5 separate regions of the Homo sapiens genome follow, and regions 1, 2, 3 and 4 are each linked to region 5. Evidence: promoter capture Hi-C in 16 types of primary human blood cells and fetal thymus (Javierre and others, 2016). All regions are on one chromosome and are shown on one strand. Each heading gives the region's core, a stretch centred on a gene start or on the middle of the fragment in contact. The rest is flanking DNA. Distances are from core to core; before and after follow the strand shown. Region 1 overlaps CRACDL (CRACD like). Region 2 has its middle 5.3 kb from the start of LINC02611. Region 3 overlaps CRACDL (CRACD like). Region 4 overlaps CRACDL (CRACD like). Region 5 holds the start of COA5 (cytochrome c oxidase assembly factor 5).

Region 1 (2,700 bases), core at 58-2,557, 210 kb before region 5:
GCACTCCAAGTGAGTACCTGCCTCTCCCCACAGCAGCTCCTATGGGTCAGAGCTCTTTTGACTCTTTAGACATTACCCCCAGAGAAACCCAAAAATGAAGCTATACCCCCGTATTAGCACAGACAGCAGCAACAGGTATGGTGGTTGGGGGTCCTGCAGGCTCCTTTCCCTTGCCACTCTGTCCTGAGGTGGTCCCAGTCACAAGAAGGTGCTACAGTGCAGAGAGGCTAAACCTTGGCTTTCTAGCCGTAGAACCTTGAGGAGTGGAGATTACAGAAAGGAGACATCTGAGTTAGATATCCTTTAAATGTGTGTATGAAGTTCTGGGCTCATCCCTGAGCTGCACATGCATAAAACTGACTAGAATGAGCACAGCAAAACCTTTTGAGAATTTTAGAAGGACCAAGTCTCAGCATAATATTCAAAATCTGTAGGATATGAACCAAAATTATCCAACATACAAAGAACCAGGAAAGCCTAAAAAATTCTCGAGGAAAAAGGCAATCAACAAATGCCAACCCTGAGAGGATTCAAATGTTAGAATTATTAGACAAAGACTTTAAAGCAACTATTATGCCACATTCTAAGAAGTAAAAATGAGTACTCTTGGAATTAATGGAAAGATAGAAATTCTCTGTAAAAAAAAAATAGAAGCTATAAAGATAGAAATTTTAGAGTTGGAAAAGCTGGAGTGGCTATATATTCATATAACACAAAGAAGACTTCAGAAAAAGGACAATTATTAGTGATAAAATGGAACATTATATAATGATAATTTCAGTAATATTGGTGAATCAAGAATGCATAAGAGTACTAAATGTGTGTGTCCCTAACAACAGAGCTTCAAAATACATGAAGCAAAAACTTGGTAGTACTGAAAGGAAAAATAAATAAATCCATAGTAAGATGTAGAGACTTTAGCACTCCTCTGTCAGTAGTCAAGAAAAGTAGCAGGTAGAAAATCAGAAAGGATATTTCAATTAGGTCAAGTTGGTTGAACATCATCATCAACCAACTTGACCTAATTGATATTTATAGAACAGCCCACCAGCCACAGCAGAATACATGTTCTTTTCAAGTGCACATGGGACATTCATGAAGATAGACCATATTCTAGGTCACTAAACAGCCCTTATTAAATTCGAAAGAATTGAAATTATTCAAAGCTTGTTCTCTGCCCTTAATGAATTAAATAAGAGTTTGATAACATCTGAAAAATATCTGGAAAGAAATATGAAAAAGATCATCAAATATTTGAAATTAAACACTACACCACTATATAATCCATGGATCAAAGAGGATGTCTCAAGGGAAATTAGAACACTGGATTAAAATGAAAATACAACATATCAAAATTTGTGGAATGCAGATAAACTGGTACTTAGGGAAACTCAACATTAAATTATATTAGAAAGAAAAAATGTTTCAAAGCAGTAATTTAAGCTTCCACTTTAAGGAACTAGAAAAAGAAAAGCAAACTAAACTCAAAGCAAGAAGGAAAGAAATAATAAACATAAGAGCAAACATAAATGAAAATATAAAAATAATAGAAAAAAAATTGATGAAACCAAAAGATGGTTCTTCAAAATAGCCAATAAAGTTGATTTAAAAACTGAGGGGAAAAAAGACACAAATTACAAACATTATGGAGTGCCACTACTGACTCCATAGGCATTAAAATGATAATAAGGGAATACTATGAACAATTCTACGCACATAAATTTGACAAATGAGAAGAAAAGGGCCAATTCCTTGAAAGACACAAACTATCAAACTTAAAAAATAGCATGAATGGTCCTGTATCTGTTAAAGTGATCAAATCTGTAGGTAAAAACCTTCCAGAAAACTCCATTTTCACGTGGTTTGACTGGTGATTTCTACCAAGCATTTAAAGAAGAAATAACACCAATTATACAAAATCTCAGCAAAACTAAGGGGAAACACTTCCCAACCCGTTTTATGAGGCCAGCATGATTGTAATACTGGAATTAAAGACAATACAGAAAACTATAGACTCTCTGTATACTATACTAAATTCAGAGATACTATATTTTCTCATATTTTTTTCTAAAATTTTTATAGTTTTCATTTTACATTTAAGTCCATGACACCTTTTGAGTTCATTTTGTATATGATGTGAGACTTAGGTCAAGGTTCATACTTTTGCCTATGAATGTTCCTATGCTTCAGGACCATTTGGTTGTGATGTACAATTTAGTATACTATAGTATCTCTGAATTTAGATGCAAAATTTTTTTTTAAGACAGAGTCTTGCTCTTGTTGCCCAAGCTGGAGTGCAATGGCTCAATCTTGGCTCACTGCAACCTCCATCTGCCAGGTTCAAGCAATTCTCCTGCCTCAGCCTCCCAAGTAGCTAGGATTACAGGCACCCACCACCACACCTGACCAATTTTTTGTATTTTTAGTGAAGACAGGGTTTCACCATGTTGGTCAAGCTGGTCTCAAACTCCTGACCTCAGGTGATCCACCTGCCTCAGCCTCCCAAAGTGCTGGGATTACAGGCATGAGCCACTGTGCCTGCCCTAGATGCAAAATTCTTAACAAAATATTATCAAATTGTACATCACAACCAAATGGTCCTGAAGCATAGGAATATTCATAGGCAAAAGTATGAACCTTGACCTAAGTCTTACATCATATACAAAATTAACTCAAAAGGGGTCATGGACTTAAATGTAA
Region 2 (2,700 bases), core at 131-2,630, 170 kb before region 5:
AGGAGAATCACTTGAAACCTGTAGGTGGAGGTTGCAGTGAGCCAAGATCACACCACCGTACTCCAGCCTGGGCAACAAAGTGAGACTCAAATAAGTAAATACATAAATAAAATGCTGAACAGGTTAATCCCTTGACCTTCTAAAATTGGGAAAGCTGGGTTCCAGGGGCTGAGCACAATGCACAGAAATAAACGATGTGAGTCATTGGTTCCAGGAACTCAATATTCTCAGCGAGGGGCCCTCCAGAGCAGCAAGTGCCAATGGAAGCATCTCTAAATTAATTGGATCTCTTTGTAAATCCAAAGGACAAATTAAATAAATGAATTGTCTGAGGCCAGTTGATTTGTAGTTCACATTTCCTCTGCAAAGGCTTGACTACAGATTTATTCATGCATTTCTGAAGCCACGTGATTTAGTGCTGAGGCCTTCTTGGGCCTTTGATAACTGCCATGATTATTAAGGCCTTGGAAGGTATAAAATGTGTTTTTCCACAATATTTACTTATGTCCTCTGTACAAAATGCATAAATATGTTACCAAGAATGTTACTAAAAACAGAAAAGAAAGGGCATGTTGTTTTTTTCTTTTCCCTCTGAGGCACTGCTTAAATATCATCTGCAAATTGTTAATTGCTCAGCTTGCGCTTTTATGACAGGGTTGGACCTGGGGAATGAAAAACAGCTCCCAGTGCTGATGCAGGGACACACCTGGCTGGCAACTCTGTTTTCAGAATGCCAAAGAGTGTAGGCTTCATTCCTTCATTCTGTAATAGGGTACAATGGGCATTGTCTAACCTTTATTTTAGCTACTTAGAGGGAAAAAAGCTACCATGACACTTGTGGTAGTTAATTTTATGTTTCAACTTGACTAGGTCACTGGTTGCCCAGATAGCTGGTTAAACATTATTTCTGTATTTGTCTGTGTGGGTGTTTCTGGAAGAGATTATCATTTGGATTAGTGGGCTCAGTAAAGCAGATTGCCATCAGCAATACAGGTAGGCATTGCCCAATCTATTGAAGACCCAAACAGAATAAAAATGGAGCAGGAAGGAGGATTTGCCATCTCTCTGTCTGATGCTTGCCATCTTCCCCCAGTGCTCCTGCTTTTCAGGCCTTCAGACTCAATCTACACCATTGACCCTCCAACTCTTAGGCCTCTGAATTAACCACCAGCTTTCCTGAGTCTCCAGCTTGCAGACAGCAGATTGTGGGACTTCTCAGCCTCCATACTCACGTGAACCAATACCGTATAATAAATCTCTTCATATGCAGTCATGCATTGTTTAACAATGAGGATACATTCTGAAACACGCATTGTTAGGCAATTAAGTCATTGTGTGGACATCATAGAACGCACTTAAACAAGCCTATAGGCTTTGTGGTGTAGCCTGTTGCTCCTGGGCTACAAACCTATACAGCACGATACTGTACTGAACACTCTAGGCAATGTAACACAATGGTAAGTATTTGTGTATCTAAACATAGAAAAGGCACAGTAAGGCTGGGCGCAGTGGCTCATGCCTGTAATCCCAGCACTTGAGGTTGGGAGTTTGAGACCAGCCTGGCCAAAATCAGGAAACCTCATCTTTTCTAAAAATACAAAAATTAGCTGGATGTGGTGGTGCACTCCTGTAGTCCCAGATACTCAGGAGGCTGAGGCAAAAGAATCGCTTGAACCCAGGAGCCAGGAGGCAGAGGTTGCAGTGAGCCGAGATCACCCCACTGCACTCCAGCCTGGGGAACAGAGAGAGAGACTCCATCTCAAAAAAAAAAAAAAAAGAGAGAGAAAAGGCACAATAAAAATACTGTTGCATATGTGGCCTGTCATTCACCAAAACATTGTTATACAGTACATAATTGTATATCTATATGCTACTGGTTCTGTTTCTCTGAGAATCTAGACTAATATACCACCTAATGGTGATCTCTAATGTTGCAAGGACAATAACTATCTTATCTGTCCTCACACATTTTATTGCAAAGTGACATTGTGTGTTGTCCAGACTGAGAATTTACCAGCTATAATTTCCCCCCACTTCAGAAACAGATTGGCAAATCATGATCAACAAAAACTATGCTCACTGAGAGAAGTCACCCACTGTTCAGACACAGGAGTGAGACTCTGGGGGCAGGAGGGCATCCAGGAGGAATATACAATGACTTTCCCTTTAAACACAGAAGCTGGAACAAGGCTCTGGGTTTAATCTGACTTGGAATTGCCTCTGTGGTTCTCAGCCAGCTCTGAGGAAGTTAAGAACCCACCCTTGCCTGTTCAAGGCTGGCTTCCAGCTCAGGAGGAAGGCTAGGGGGTGAGAATTAGGAATCCCCCACCAAAACACACACACATGCACGCACACACAAACACACATGTCCAAAGCTGACTGTTTTTCTCTGGGATTGTATTTCAAGGCCTCTGAAGTCATCAAAGTCTCTAAAACACAGGTGGTCATGGGGCTTTTCATGATAAACTTTTGGAATCTTCTCCCCTCATTAAAACCAAACCACAGTTCTGCAGGGCTTCTCCGAGAGCCAGCCTGATGGGACCCAAGTCCATGAAGGCTTCCTCCATTACCAGTGAGCAGCCTACAGGGACCCCAAGCGTGACCTGGGGTGGGGCCAGAGGGCAGGCCAGGCACTCTCGGCCTCCCGAGACCTTTCTCATGCCTAGCGTACTCCGCAGGCACCTTGATGCCTAGTGAGCG
Region 3 (2,700 bases), core at 10-2,509, 220 kb before region 5:
GGGAGTGTTGTTTGATGTTCTGTTCACTCACATCCCTCTTTCTCATTCTGAGCCCCCCAGGGGTCAGTAAGATGGAGGTGGGCAGAGTCTCACAGTGGCTCTTTTATCCTAGGGAGTCGAGGGGCACGCTGGGCAGCCGGGCCCTTTCTCACGACAGTATTTTCATTCCTGAGTCCGGACAGGACGCTACTCGGCCTGTGCGGGTGTTTTCCCAAGAAAATGTGTGTGATCGGATTAAAGCTCTGCAGGTAAATGTTTCCTTGGTCATGTCGCCTGGTGTGCAAGTCAAATATCCATCAAGAAGTTTTTAAATGATTTCTGCTTGGTTTATTTGATATGCTGTAAAGTAGAATCACATGTACATGACAGCTCCCCCAGGACACACCAAATGAGCTGCAGTGGGATCTCGACTCATTCTTAGATGAACAAAGAAGAGATGGCAGTGGAAGAGCTGGTGGCAGATGCACGTTCAGTTCAGTTCTCTGCACCACACCAAGATACTGAAGGCATTTCCAGCATGAATGAATTAGAGCAGGAGGATTTGTTGATAAATATCATTGATGAAAATAAGAGCACATGTTCTTTATTCCAATCTAGTTAAAAATACAGTGTAATGTGAAAATGGGGCCACCACCTCCTCCAGGGGGGCTTCCTGCCAAGCGGGGAGAGGATGCCGGCATGAGCTCTGAGGACGACGGGCTGCCCAGGAGCCCCCCAGAGATGTCTCTGCTGCACGACGTGGGTCCTGGTACCACCATAAAGGCAAGTGCGGCCTGTACCACTGCATGTCTTCATCCACACCTGCCCTGGAGGGTGCTGGAGCTCTGAGATCCCCTGTGTGTGCCCCTAAGATCTCCAGGCTGTGCATGGTGTGGCCAACTGGGTCACTGGAGCCTACAATCAGCCCTTGAGCTGTGTTTATTTTCATTCTTTGAGTAGAAATTCAGGTCTGGTTAGGAGACGTGGTTTTGGTGACTTTTTTTAATGAGGGTGATAGGTTGATAGAATCAACCCAGAATCAACCCTGTCCCTTGACTTTCCTGTCTGAGCAGATGACCAGACCCAGAACCCCATTAGAAGTAGGGAAACACGTTGTATCTGTTTTCCGTTGCCATGACATTTGGCCGGTGGGAGGGGGAAGTAGTGAGCATGTGATAGTTGAGGCTCTGATGGTCTCCGGTGCCTGAGTTTGTGACCTTGAGGTGGTGTTGGCCTAGGGGTAGTAATGTGCTGTATTGCTGGCAAACAGGGCAGCAGGGAAAGGTTGACAAGCAAGAGAGGAACTGATGACCTCAGCAGGGTGGAGGAACCAGTCCCAAACACCACCTTCTCCATTAGAATCCAAGAGGGGGGCCCCGAGGAACTCGGAAAAGAGCACGAGCTCTTTCTCGTGCATAAACAACATAGCTCGCGATGCTGCCACATTTTAAATTCTTTATGTTATTGTGGTAAGAACACTTAATGCCCATACACTGTACTTGCACATAAATGTTAAAAATAGGTGGTCATCCTTCCCATGTAGACAAGCCTGACTGTGGAGGATGGATAGAGTTGGAGTTATCTGTTATGCTGACATTTGAAAAACAAATAAAGGCCAGAGTTTATTTTTTATAGCCACACACCTTCCCCTGTCACCTCTGGCCTGCTCGAGGGGCCATTCACAGTGAAGGGGGAGCTTCGTTGCGACTCACTGCCTTGCAGATTCTGTGCTTCTCTGAATTGTGTTCAGAAGCCACTTCAGTGTGGACACCTATACACCCTGCCACACCAAATTTTTGTGTGTAGTTGTGAGTTCCCCGAACGTCACTGATGAAAAAGGCAAAAGGACTGTGGTGTGGCTGAGTGTGTGGGGTGGGGACTGACATGAAGCCGGCTAGAGAATTATTCTCTCCAGAATTCTGCTCTGGGGCGAAGCTGTCCCTGCTCATTCCAGGAGCAGGGTCTGAGGACAGTGGGCTACCCAGGCCTGCTCTCCAGCCTCGAGCAGAAGGGAGAAAGGATGAGGAGGATGGGGTGGCCTATTTCATAGACTTCACCGAGCCAACCCTGTACCCCTTTTAACACCTCCAAATACTCCTGTGTGCAGTTTCAGCGTCCCCCTCTCAGGAGCAGATGTGACTTAGTGTATTTCTGAGCTATGCAGTAGGAAGAGGTCTGTCATGAGCTGCCTCTTTCCTCATCATAGATGGACTCCCCCTCCTCCCATCCCACAGGTCTCTGACTCTCACAGCATCCCAGTTCTCTGCCTTTAGCCAGGACGGGCAGTAAGAGGAGAGGTAGTTTCTAACCCATCCATTGAAGAGCAAGCCTATCTCCAAACCCATGTGACACTATGAGGCACAAATTCCACAGCTGGCTCGGCTGGGCCAGCCTGACTTTATCTCTCACAGCACAACCACCTCCTGTGGTTGGTCCTTTATTTAAAAAAAAAAAGTTCTGAGATTTTATCAATTATTGGGTAATATGGACAATCTACCAGCTTCATAGGAAACCAAAATTTGGGCTTTTAAGACTTAAAAACAGAAAGGTAATCTTTAGTGTCTTCATCGTTTTGAAGACACAATGATTGCATTTTGAGGCCTGAAAGTTTTTATGCATAATTGGTTGATTAAGAGGGAAAAACAACACACCCTTTAAAATGGGCTTGTAGAATATGTGGTATTTGATGTAATAGTGCCTTAAGCCCCAAAAGTATGGGCT
Region 4 (2,829 bases), core at 163-2,662, 240 kb before region 5:
TTTTAGTAGAGATGAGGTTTCACCATGTTGGCCAGACTGGTCTCGAACTCCTGACCTCGTGATCCACCCACCTCGGCCTCCCAAAGTGCTGGTATTACAGGTGTGAGCCACTGCGCCAGCTTGGTTTTGTTTTTGTTCCTCTGTTCTTCCTATTTGTTTTGTTCCTCTGTTCTGCCTTTTTTGGGGTTAATTGAATTTTTGGGTGTTCCATTATAAATTTTATTTTAGCGTTTTAGCTAAACTTCTTTGCATTAAATTTTTTAGTGTTTTCTCTAGGGATCACAGTATTAATTCTGAAATTGTGACTGTCTGTTTAGAGTTAGTCTTGTACCACTTCACGTAAAATGCCAGAACCTTGTGATAGTCTAGTCATACATACAACTCCTACCTTTATGTTATAGTCACATATTACATCTACATACATTGTAAATTCATAATAGTTTTTTTAGTTGTTATATGCATTTAAATAAATTTAGAAAAGAAAAACACGTACTTTTTAATATTTACCCACATATTTACCACATTCATTATGCTTCATTCTTTCTATAGCTTTCAATTTCAATCTGGTATAATTTTCTTTCATCCTAAAAAACTTTTGTTTTGCATTTCCTGTAGTACATATCTGCAGTACATATCACTTTTTAGAAAAGTGTAGTACATATCACTTTTTAGATAAGTGAAAGTACTTTTCACTTATCTAAAAATGTCTATATTTTGCCTTCATTATTGAAGGATAATTTTTCTGGATATAGAATATTGGGTTGTTCTTTGTTTTCTATCAGCACTTTAAAGAGACTATTCTGTTGGCTTTTCTTATCCATTGTTGGTCATTTATATTGTTGTTTGCCTGTTTATGATGTGTCATTTTTCTCTGGCTGTTGTCAAGATTTCCTCTTCATCTTTGGTTTTAGTACACTATGCTGTGTTCCACACTTCTGTGAGGTCTATGATGTGCCTTGTTGTGGTTTTCTTGGAGTTTGCTAAGATTCTTAGATCTGTAACATTATCTTTTCCACCATTTTGGAGAAATGTTTATTCGTAAGTTCTCCAAATATTTTTAATGCCCCCCCTTCCCTTTCCCCTTCCCTTCCCTTTCCCTTCCCTTCCCCTCCCCTCCCCTCCCCTCTCCTCCCTCTCTCTCTCTCTCTCCCGCACCCACCCCTTCCCTCTCCTTCCTTCTTCTCTCTCCTTTTCCCTCTTTCTCTCTCCTGCTTCTTCACACTCCCCCCACTCCCTGTTTCTGGGACTCAATTAAATATATGTTAGACCAATCAATACTGCACCACTGGTCACTGAGGCTGTGTTCAGATTCACTTTTTTCCCAGTCTTTTTCTCTCTGTTCTTCAGATTGGATCATTTCTATTGATCTCTCTTCAATTTGATTGATCCTTTCTTTTGATGTCTTCAATCTGCTGTTAAGCCCATTTAATAAATATTTTATTTTAGAAATTACAGTTTTCATCTTGATGATTTCCATGTGTTTCTTCTTTATATTGTATGTTTCTAATTTGAAATTCTTTATCTTTTTATATATTATGGCTACATTTTTGTTTTAAGTAGCTTCTTTAAAGTCTTTGTTGGCTATTTAAGCATTTTGGTCACTCAGGATTATTCTTTCTTAGGTGTTTTTTTTCTCATGACTATGGGTCATATTTTCCTATTTCTTTGCATGTTTTGTAAATTTTGATTATATGGTAGACATTGTAAATGATATTTCATAGGAACTCTGGAACCTATGCTGTCCCGAAGATTATTGATTTTGTTCTAGCAGGCTGTTTGTTACCTGTGAACTCTGTCTCTCCTGCAGTGAGCAGTAGAAAAATCTTAGTTCATTTCCCTCAGCCTCCCAGCTGTTATCTTCTGCCTGGTTCCTTGGAGTCTCCCCAGTATGTGCAGAATTCAGGGGAGGGGAGCCAAGAATTAGGATAGGGTTTACATGTGGATTTTGGTGCTCCTCTCTCTGAAGTTTTTTCCTTCCTAAGATATTCTCCCTCAGTTTCCATCTGCTCTGGCAGCCCTAAATTCCATTCTTGGATTCATCAAGCCCATAAGATTATGGCTTTGTATTTGAGCTCCAGCCACTCCACAACACACATACCTGAGAGCTTTTCCAGGTCAAAAGCCCTACACACATAAATCACTCCTACTGCAATTCCCTTTTTTTAAGTGTTGATTCCAAAAATAAAAAACTAAAAAATAATAAAAAAGAAAAGAAGAGTTGATTCCACTTTAATTTCTGCTTTCAATTGCTCATAACTGCCTTCAAATGATTGTTTTTCATCTTTTCTCCACAGTTTATACTTATCATCAGTGGAAAGTTTTACTGTGGTGTAGGCTACTCTACCACTTGGAAGTCTAACCTACCTTTAAATTTGAAGGATATTTTTCTGGAGTTTAGAATCTATGTTGGCACTTATTTTCTTTCATTGGAGTTTTCTATTTAAAATACTTAGCTCTGAGAGGGCATCACTGCTGATACTGACCTGAAAGTTGGTGGGTACAGAGACCCTGGAGAAGGTGATGCAGGGTAGATGGCAGAACCCTGCTATGGGAAGAAAGTGAGGGAAAGCACTGTTGGAAAGGGAGGTGTAAAGATTGAATAAAGGTGGGTGTTTTCCCTGTCTTCCCTAACGCTGACCTCAGGTAGATTAAATCACCTCTTCAAACTGATAAGGGAAAGGTGAACCAAGAGTCACTCTTTCTGGGTCTCTCTACAGCTCTCTGAGGTTAAATGAATTGATATTCAAAGATCTGAAAGGATTCTAATACCCAGAAGCCCCTCTAGTTTGTCAGTTCTCTTGTTTGGTGTGATCTGTTCAGTTCTCTGGT
Region 5 (2,700 bases), core at 6-2,505:
GTAACATCTTCCTAGATGGAAGAAAAACATTTCTTTTACACGTATTCTGAAGAAACATTTGGCTACCGACACTCCTCTTCTGAGTTATTTGGCAGGGAGGTCACTTTCCATGTTCTTCCCAACCCTAGAGAAAGGCCAGGAGTCAAAAGCAAATGCAGTTAGTTCTGAGGCGGGTCTTGGGGCTTGGGAACCGCAGACTGCAACCTCAGGCAAGGGCAACAGCCCACCCTTCTGAATCACCTAATAACACTTATCCAGGGGCAGCTACCATTACAGAGACAGGGATGATGTGACTGCCCCATGACTCCGAGGATAGTGATAGAGCCAAGATTGGAAATCTGACTCGAAATTCCGTGCTCTTAACCACCAAGCTTTTAAGAAAATGCCTAAGAAAGCAGTTTCAGCCGGTTAGAACAGTGTTACTGAAGAGGTCAAATAAATGGCCTATTCACACAGATCCATCAGCGCACTGCCAGCAAGCTTCTCGGTCACTAGAATGAGATTAAAAAACCAAGAAAAACTCCGATCCCTAGTGTTTTACATCCGGAATAGTTCAGCAGAGGGAGCGGTAGCGTCGGAGTCCAATCCAACCGGTCCGAGCTCCGGGGAACGCCGGCCACTGCCCGGCTGCCCGTCTCCCCTCCACTTCGCAGGCCCCCCAGACGCCGGCAGGGTCTGGCCGAGCCCAGCTGCTCCCTCCCTGCCCGGGGCCGCGGGTACGGCTGCCAGATTTAGCAAATAAAAACACAGAATACCCAGCTCCATTTGGATTTCAGACAGGCCACGAATAAGGTTTTAGTATGCCTACATCCCACGCAACATTTCGGACATGCTTATACTAAATGCTCTTTCTTTATCTACGATGCAAATGTAACTGGGCGTCCTTTCATTTTAGCCGCAACTCTATCGCCGGCCGAGGGGCCGGACGCCGACATGGTCACTGCCAGGCCGCAGCGACGTCAGGCCGCAAGCTGTCGGGATTAAATGGCCCCCGGCGCGAGCCCGGGCCGCGGGAGGGCAGAGTGGTCCTCAGGCCTCACCTGGAGTCCTGCTACAGCCTCGACCCACGTCCGAACCAGCCCACCACCTCCTCCCAGCAGCCGACCCCAGCCGCCACCGGGCGGGCTTCCCTTCCCTCAACGGAGCCGGCCCTTGGGGCGCGCCGCGTCACGGGAACCGACTTCCGCCGCGGACGCGCCACCTCTCGGCCCCCGTAGTCCTCGGCCCTACCGCCGCGGCCCGCCGGAAGTTGTTGCCGCTGGCTTCCGGTCCCCTGAGACTGGGGCCTCGCTCGCTCCCGACCCGGTTGCAAGTGTTGCGGTGGGAGAAAGTCGCGTCCGCATCGGAGGGGAAGCGCCGTCATGCCTAAGTATTATGAGGACAAGCCGCAGGGCGGCGCGTGCGCGGGCCTGAAGGAGGACCTGGGCGCGTGTCTGCTGCAGTCGGACTGTGTGGTCCAGGTAGCGCGGCCGGGCGCTCCCGGTGGTGACGACCCCTGTCCCAGGCAGGCCTGGCTCGGCGGAGGGCAGCGGGTCGCCCGCGGCGGCGGTTGGAGTTAACCATCCCGGGCGTAGGTCACAGCTCGGGCTCACTGAACGTGCGCAGATCCACTGAGCTGTCGGAGCCCCAGTTCCCTGTGGGGTTAAATCGGAGATAACGATAAACGCACCCTGTCGGGTTTTTGTAAAGGTTAACCCATTTCAGTTCACGAAGCCTTTATTGAATGCTAGCACTCTACTAGGCTTTGGAGACATAAAGGAGAATAAGCCAGGTTTCTTGCCTGCCTAGAAATGATAATCTGTAGAATTAATGATTCCAGAGAGTTGCGTAAACCTGGTACACTGCCCTGGCCAGTAGTGTCTCCTGCCTGTTCAGTTGTGACAATGTGTGCTCAGTTTGACTTGTGTTGATGTGAATTTGTTTCTGAGTTACAGTTCTCTGCATTCTTGGATGTTAAGTTGTAAAAATAAGGCAACTCCATATTTTCACGATTTCGTATCTTGCTTCCCCTACACTCTTCCTTCACTCCCCGGCTACAGACACAGGTCTCCTCAGCACCCTCTTGGAATGCACTGAAACATGTAGTGAGGTTCACAGTGGACCTGAGTTCTGGATTAGAGCTCAAGTAAAGCACAAGTGCCTTTTCCAATTGCAGAGGCCCGACGAGAGGGCATTCAATTGTGTGCAATTGTCTTTGCATTGGGGGATGTAGTTTCAGAAAGTTGCTGTTATTTCAGAGAAAAGATTACCCCCAAATGGACATCCACTGTAAGACTGTACCAGTGTTTCTACCGAGTCACAATTTGTTTGGTTCACTGATTTTAGCAGTCAGCCATTCTCGCCTCCCAATGTCTAGTAAAACTTGAGTTATTATAAATTTAAGAGATTATCTCGCCCAACTTCCTTATATAAATGAGGAAACTGAAGTACCGTTGTTTTCAGGCTCCCCTGTCCAGGGCTGTGTCCCTTCTGCCCCTTACTCACTGGTGCTGCCGTTCAGCCAGCTCCTGGTAAATGCCTCTTAAGTGGCAGGCATGGTACCTGACACTGGTGATAACGAAGATGAATCAGTAACAGTCACTACCCATGTAAGCTTGGTGTCATGGGAGAAATAGACATCTAAGGGTCTAAATTCCTGCCATAAGACTGTAAGCATTTATTAAACATGTGTTTAATGACTAGATCTTGAGGAGAAAAATG

What was found. Contacts are between HindIII fragments. The CHiCAGO score rates a contact against its expected background, and 5 or more counts as called.
Region 1: a fragment that was not itself captured here is called in contact with the fragment with the promoter of COA5 in region 5 in 5 of 17 cell types (non-activated CD4 T cells, total CD8 T cells, naive CD4 T cells and 2 more); the score reaches 9.0 in non-activated CD4 T cells.
Region 2: a contact is called between a fragment that was not itself captured here and the fragment with the promoter of COA5 in region 5, in 2 of 17 cell types (non-activated CD4 T cells and naive CD4 T cells). The highest score is 7.0, in non-activated CD4 T cells.
Region 3: a fragment that was not itself captured here is called in contact with the fragment with the promoter of COA5 in region 5 in 13 of 17 cell types (non-activated CD4 T cells, naive CD4 T cells, activated CD4 T cells and 10 more); the score reaches 18.1 in non-activated CD4 T cells.
Region 4: a contact is called between a fragment that was not itself captured here and the fragment with the promoter of COA5 in region 5, in 2 of 17 cell types (non-activated CD4 T cells and naive CD4 T cells). The highest score is 5.9, in non-activated CD4 T cells.

What each region holds. Positions count from the first base shown.
Region 1 is chr2:98,812,993-98,815,692 of GRCh38, reverse strand. The region is part of intron 7 of CRACDL (CRACD like); the gene reads left to right. Among named protein-coding and RNA genes, the nearest start is that of LINC02611, 42 kb to the right of the region's middle. The HindIII fragment of the contact is 277 bases long and covers 1,169-1,445 here.
Region 2 is chr2:98,775,885-98,778,584 of GRCh38, reverse strand. No RefSeq gene overlaps it. Among named protein-coding and RNA genes, the nearest start is that of LINC02611, 5.3 kb to the right of the region's middle. RefSeq lists an enhancer at 1-25. The HindIII fragment of the contact is 3,905 bases long and covers 1-2,700 here.
Region 3 is chr2:98,830,410-98,833,109 of GRCh38, reverse strand. CRACDL (CRACD like) reads left to right here. Exons shown (of 10, transcript NM_207362.3): 4 at 113-248; 5 at 598-762. Among named protein-coding and RNA genes, the nearest start is that of LINC02611, 60 kb to the right of the region's middle. The HindIII fragment of the contact is 4,284 bases long and covers 1-2,700 here.
Region 4 is chr2:98,851,295-98,854,123 of GRCh38, reverse strand. The region is part of intron 1 of CRACDL (CRACD like); the gene reads left to right. Among named protein-coding and RNA genes, the nearest start is that of LINC02611, 81 kb to the right of the region's middle. The HindIII fragment of the contact is 3,322 bases long and covers 1-2,829 here.
Region 5 is chr2:98,607,067-98,609,766 of GRCh38, reverse strand. COA5 (cytochrome c oxidase assembly factor 5) reads left to right here and starts at 1,255. Exons shown (of 3, transcript NM_001008215.3): 1 at 1,255-1,460. The coding sequence starts at 1,362. UNC50 (unc-50 inner nuclear membrane RNA binding protein) reads right to left here and starts at 1,178. Exons shown (of 6, transcript NM_014044.7): 1 at 1,041-1,178; 2 at 1-11. The coding sequence starts at 7. RefSeq lists a silencer at 951-1,050 and an enhancer at 1,114-2,103. The HindIII fragment of the contact is 2,113 bases long and covers 483-2,595 here.